Regions from separate parts of the Homo sapiens genome. Here region 1 is linked to region 2. The links are contacts of gene promoters, found by promoter capture Hi-C in blood cells and fetal thymus (Javierre and others, 2016). All regions are on one chromosome and are shown on one strand. Each heading gives the region's core, a stretch centred on a gene start or on the middle of the fragment in contact. The rest is flanking DNA. Distances are from core to core; before and after follow the strand shown. Region 1 overlaps LARP4 (La ribonucleoprotein 4). Region 2 holds the start of GPD1 (glycerol-3-phosphate dehydrogenase 1).

The links. Contacts are between HindIII fragments. The CHiCAGO score rates a contact against its expected background, and 5 or more counts as called.
Region 1: a fragment that was not itself captured here is called in contact with the fragment with the promoter of GPD1 in region 2 in 1 of 17 cell types (endothelial precursors); the score reaches 5.2 in endothelial precursors.

Annotation. Positions count from the first base shown.
Region 1 is chr12:50,433,620-50,436,521 of GRCh38, reverse strand. LARP4 (La ribonucleoprotein 4) reads right to left here. Exons shown (of 16, transcript NM_052879.5): 5 at 898-1,034. Among named protein-coding and RNA genes, the nearest start is that of SNORD133, 22 kb to the left of the region's middle. The HindIII fragment of the contact is 3,407 bases long and covers 1-2,902 here.
Region 2 is chr12:50,102,182-50,105,384 of GRCh38, reverse strand. GPD1 (glycerol-3-phosphate dehydrogenase 1) reads right to left here and starts at 1,377. Exons shown (of 8, transcript NM_005276.4): 1 at 1,294-1,377; 2 at 634-811. The coding sequence starts at 1,334. RefSeq lists an enhancer at 2,318-2,367. The HindIII fragment of the contact is 4,893 bases long and covers 1-1,599 here.

The DNA.
Region 1 (2,902 bases), core at 336-2,835, 330 kb before region 2:
GTGTAGGTATATGGTGTATATTGAACTGTCACGAAAAATGTACTTCTTATTTGGGTTTAAAAACTTGAAAGAGATTGTCTTAAAGGTTGTGTGATAACGATACATATCTAACACTCCAGAAAAATGAGACTTAATTGCTTATACTTCTTAAGTGGGCATGATGATAAACAACCAAGGTGCAGAATTATTACAGAAGCTGTATATAGGCCGGGGGTGGTGGCTCACGCCTGTAATTCCAACATTTTGGGAGGCTGAGCAGGATATATATATATATACATACACACATATACACACACACACACCCCCACACACCAGTCAGTAGCGGGATATATATATATATATATATACATACACACACACACACACCCCAGCGGGATATATACACACACACACACACATATCACACACACACACACACACCAGCGGGATACACACACACACACACACACACACACACACACACACACACAGAGTCAGTAAAAATGGGAAGCCAAGGTGGGAGGACTGACTCAGCCAAAGAACAAAGACCAGCCTGGGGAACATACCAAGACCCCACCTCTATACAAAAATTTAAAGATTAGCCAGATGTGGTGGTGTGCGCCTGGGGTCCCAGTAACTTGGGAGGCTACGAGGTAGAAGGATGGCTTGAGCCCAGGAGTTTGGGGCTGCAGTGAGCTGTGATTTGCACCATCACACTCCCGCTTGAGTGACAGAGTGAGACCCTGTCTTTCACCACAACCCCCGAAAAAAAAAAACAAAGAGAGAGAATTCGGAACAAAACAACAAAATAAGGGTGTGGGGAGGGGGCAGTAAAAATAATTCCCTATATGATCAGAAGTCGAAATAACATTTTACGTTTAAAAATTAAAAAAAAAGCTAAAAGGTATTTTTACATACATCTTAACACTTCAAGAATTAGATCAGGGTCTGTAGTCAACTTTTTTATTTCTTCCATGTTGGCAACTGTCCAAATTGGGATGAACTGATCACTATCCATTTGAGATATCAAGTAAAGATCCTTTGACAAATTTTCTCTGAAAAAACAAAATAGTCCTATAAAACAAGCAATTATTAAAAAGCATCTAACAAGAGGTATCTTACTCACTTTTCCTACTTTTTAAATGCATGGAAATAAGATTATTCTATCAGAAATAACATTAAACTTTTCAGTGAACTCTAAAAAGTTGTTAAAAGTTCAATTCAAAAGATACTAATGTAATATATACATAAACATTAGTTAATATAACTTTTACAGTATCTCAATTCCCAAACACATCTAGCACAACATTGGACAATTATACTGATACATAAAGAGGTTTAATATTACAAGTAGCACTTTAACAAAACATTACATATAGCAGAGTTCCATCTTATAAATACTTCATCAGTGATATTAGAATATGCATGATAAAAACTGTAGCTGAACTGTGAACTGACTCAAGAAGGATTTTCCATTTCTGTTTCTTTTTTTCCTGAGACAGAGTCTTGCTCTGTTGCCCAGTCTGGAGCGCAGTGGCGCAAACTCGACTCACTGCAAGCTCTGCCTTCCGGGTTCAAGTAATTCTCCTGCCTCAGCCTCCCGAGTAGCTGGGACTACAGGCGCCCGCCATCACGCTCGGCTAATTTTTTTTTGTATTTTTTAGTACAGACGGGGTTTCACCGTGTTAGCCAGGATGGTCTCGATCTCCTGACCTCGTGATCCATCCGCCTCAGCCTCCCAAAGTGCTGGGATTACAGGCGTGAGCCAGCGCACCCTGTCCAAAATACGTGTTTTAAATTATTTAAGTCAAACATGCTTATATAAATACACACATTGGCTGGGTGCGGTGGCTCATGCCTGTAATCCTAGCACTTTGGGACGCCGAGGCGGGTGGATCATTAGAGGTCAAGAGCTCAAGACCAACCTGGCCAACATGGTGAAACCCCGTCTCTACTAAAAATACAAAAAATTAGCCAGGCTTGGTGGTGGGTGCTACTCGGGGTGCTGAGGCAAGAGAATCGCTTGAACCTGGGAGGCGGAGATTGCAATGAGCCGAGATCACGCCACTGCACTCCAGTTGGGGCAACAAGGGCGAAACTCCATCTCAAAACATAAACAAAAAAAAAAAAAGAAAAATAAAAAATATATATTTAATATTAACACAAAAGATTCTTTAAGGTACATTAAAAAAAGAAGATGCAAACACTTGCATCTTACACATAAAATCTTGTTTAATAAACTTAGGTAAAATCAAATTCACACCTTGCTATTCACATCAAATATTCTTTGAAGCAGTCTGGCTATAAATAGCTGGAAGTTTTTGCTTATAAGGCCCCTTCTCAAAGAGTACTGTTCTGATCACCCTATTTAAAACTGCAACCACCCCAGCATTCCTGATTCCTGTCCTTGCATTTAATTTTTTTCCCATAGCACTTATCTCCTAACATACTCCTTATTTATTATGTTTGTTTTGTGTTCTCACAGTCAGAATATAGGTTCCATGAAGGATCGCTGCTGTTCAATCAATAATGTATTTCAACTGCCTAGTGCCTGGCAAGGAGCAGGCTCAAAGGCCCTTACTTTTACATTCTATTAAAATAGAGGCCAGGCATGGTGGCTCACACCTGTAAACCCAGCACTTTGGGAGGCAAAGGTGGGTGGATCACCTGATATCAGGAGTTTGAGATTAGCCTAGCCAACATGATAAAACCTCGTCTCTACTAAAAACACAAAACTTAGCCAGGCACGGTTGTGCGTGCCCGTACTCCCAGCTACTTGGGAGGCTGAATCAGAAGAATCGCTTGAACCCGGGAGGTAGAGGTTGCAGTGAGCCGAGATCGTGCCACTGCACTCCAGCCTACGCAATAGAGTGAGAACTCCATCTCAAAAAAAAAAAAAAAAGATATTCCTTAAGAATCTGAA
Region 2 (3,203 bases), core at 128-2,627:
TACTCCCTCCCCCCAGCTACCACTCTGTCTCCCTCCAGCTGTCCTGGGCTCTTGAGGACTCCTGGAAACCTCATCCCAGCACTCTCCTATCCCTTGGCTGTGGGACAGTGCGGGAGGCCAAAAGCAGCCTGGGCTTGGCAAAAGAAAGAGCTCAAATAAGATTTCATCACCCAGCTCCTCAGGAACCCCAGCTGGGAAGGGGGAGCCCCAGCCTTTCTGCTCTCTTCCCTGCTTCCCCTTTCCAGGTGGGGAGAGCCACGTGGATTTGACCAAAGACCGTAAGTCCAAGGAGCAGCCTCCAAGTCGGCTACTCACTCAGTGAATGAGTAACAGGATTAGTGCCGGAGGCAGGCACTACTGGACCCCAAGTCTGGGAGCCCAGTCTTTGGCTGCCATGGAGACCAACTTGTTCTCCCATCCCTTCCCCACCCACCCGCCTGGGAGCCTGTGAGGGGAAAGCATAGGTTCTCCTCAGTCCTCAGGAAAGGGCCCAGAGCAGCCCTCCTGAGACCTTCCCAAGTCCTGCTGCACCTGAAGCGGCCCTCTCAGCAGGAGGCACCTGTTGAGTAAGGTCGGCTCCAACTCCTGGCCCTCCCTTCCTCTCCCTGTTCTTCGCAGGGTGTTGGGGCTCACCACATTTGGGGGCAACTTGTGCCCTGGCAGGTATTTGACATTCTCATGCTGCGTGTTGATGATCTCAGTCAGCTTTTTGCCTCCAATGTCTTCCTCAAATACCCACATGGTCACCCGTGGGTCAAACTGTGCCAGCTGGGCTGCATTGCCACCCACGATCTTGGCGATGGCTGAGCCCCTGGTGGGAGGGGGAGCACAGGAAAGTACAGGAGGAGGGAACAGTGGCAGGAGTTGGGGCAGCGCCCCACCTCAGGATCTCACAGCAGCCCCCCAGGCTGTTCACTCCTACCTACCTTCCTTATCACCTCCACTCCCATGACAAATAGTCCCCAGTGACCTGGCAGTAGAAAGGAGACTCAGTCTCCTCACCCTTTGCTACTAGAGAAGGGAGCCCCACTTCTCATCTTCCCACCCCCAAACTCAAGCGGCTCTTCACATAGAGAGCTCTGGAGACGCCTTCCCATGGTGAACAGGTGCAGCTGCCCAGGAGGGCGGGGGTCAGGAGAGGGCCGGGCACCGTCTGTCCTGTGCTGCTATGATAGAAGATAGCAGCAGGGGCTGAACAGGAACCTGAGGGCCTTTCCCACCCATTCTGCCTCCTACCCACCTCTGTCTTGGGGGGCCTACCCTTCCCCCATATCACTTGACAGAGCTGCTTACCAGTTCCCGGAGCCTACAATGCAGACTTTCTTGCTAGCCATGGTGCCGCGTCTCTGCCTGAGCCGGCTCAGTGCCACACTCCCTAGCTCCTCTGCCGGCTAGGAGCATTTAACTCCACCACACGTGGGTGCAGCCAAGCCCCGCCCTCCAGGGGTGGGTGGGGAGGCTGGCGCCCAGGGAGATAGAGAGTCTGGCAGAGCCAGGGAAAGGAGAGACAGGGGTACAGACAGGTGTGGAACAGGAATGGGGCAGAGACTAGGCCCAGCTTTTTCTCCTGGGCTCATCGGCTGACAGTGCTGGCAAGCTTCTTCCCTTGGCCCCAGCCCAGCTTCCCACCATGGTCTCATTTTGAGGTCTGCTAAGAAAATAGCCCAGATAAGGAGCAGGTGACTGCTCTCCCTTGCTCCTTTCTGTCCCCCAGCATGAAATAAATTGTATTTAGCTTCAGTAGCAGCTAGGGGAATGCTTTTCAGAGGTAGGCTCCTCCATGACCCCCTATCCCCCCGCCAACCCTGCCACATATCCTCACAGGACCCTGTTCCACAGTTCTGTCCTCCAGCAGGCCCACGCTAGCTCCACTGCAGGGCTGGGGTGGGGGATGTGGGCCCACTTCCCACCTCTAAAGATGAGGCCACATAAGAGGTAAGGGCCTGCTTTGAGGACAGCCCAGCTCAAAAAAGGATGAGAGACTCCAGGTGCCTCAAAAGACAAGATTGTCTTGGTCACCCACAGAGGTCATCTTGGGGACTCATCCATGGGCCTCTCAGATGATCCCCACCCAAAAATGTGTTCTAGGGAAGGTGGGAAAGGTTAAAGTTAGAGAGCTCTGAGAATTGCGGTACACAATTTTGTTGTAGACTCTGGGCTTAAGAGGACAGGAGAGAATAGGAGGCAGGCAGAGTGCACACTGTCCTTGAAAGGCTTTGAGCCTCCTTCAACTCCTCCTCTCAGGGGTTTCCAAGGTACTGCCCCAGGGGCTTCATCAGGTGAATGGCTAGTTTGCAGAGGCCAGAAAAGGGGAAGGCAGGCAGTACCCGGGGCAGCTGTGTCCGTGGGGCTTTGTGGTCTCAGATGCTGTGATTGGGGGTAAGTTTGGTGTATGTTTTTTGGGGAAGGGCGAGAATGGAAGGAGCACCCTCAGCAGTTCAGGGCTCTGCATCGCCCACGGCCATCTGTTTGTCTAAGACGAGGGAAGCTCTGGTTTCCAGGCTGATCTGGAGAGTGGAGCAAGAGGCTCCTAACACTGTGCACCTTGGCCTAGAGGGCAGACACCACTGTGTGCTCATGTGCTGACCTCCTGGCTTGGCAGACGGCTAGGTGGGTGTTGCCATCCCCCTGGGCTGTTGCTGGCCAGCAACTGGTAACAAGCACTGGGCTACAGGGGAGTCTGTGTGCAACCCATGGGTAGGAGTAAGCAGGCAGGAGGTCAAGACTGGGGAGAAATGGCTTTCTAAGTTCCGGGGACTGCCCAGGAAAAACCAACCATATTCTCCTTCCATGGCCAGTAATTTCCCATAGGGAAACGGACATGAAATCAGTAGTTGGCTGTTTTTCTTAGCACAATGTTATACCTAATACAGAAACAGCCTCCCACAGACCACTCCTTTATTGCACTGGCACTGAGATGAAGGCTCCAGTGCCAGGCTGCCAGCTGGGAGCACTGATTACGGGTGATGGAAGAGAAAGGATGCTTCTGTCCCTGGCACAAATGATGGGAGCCCCAAAGAATGGATGTTTATGCATAAAATAACCCCCTTGTTTTTGCCTAAATGCTTCCCTCTCTCATTTTGCCCCTACAATCATTTTAGATAGTGTGGAGACTAAGAATGTGCTCATTTACATGGGAATAAAGAGGGTGCAGAGATTCAGAATCGGCTCATCACAGGAAGTTATCTGTATCACTAGAGCTC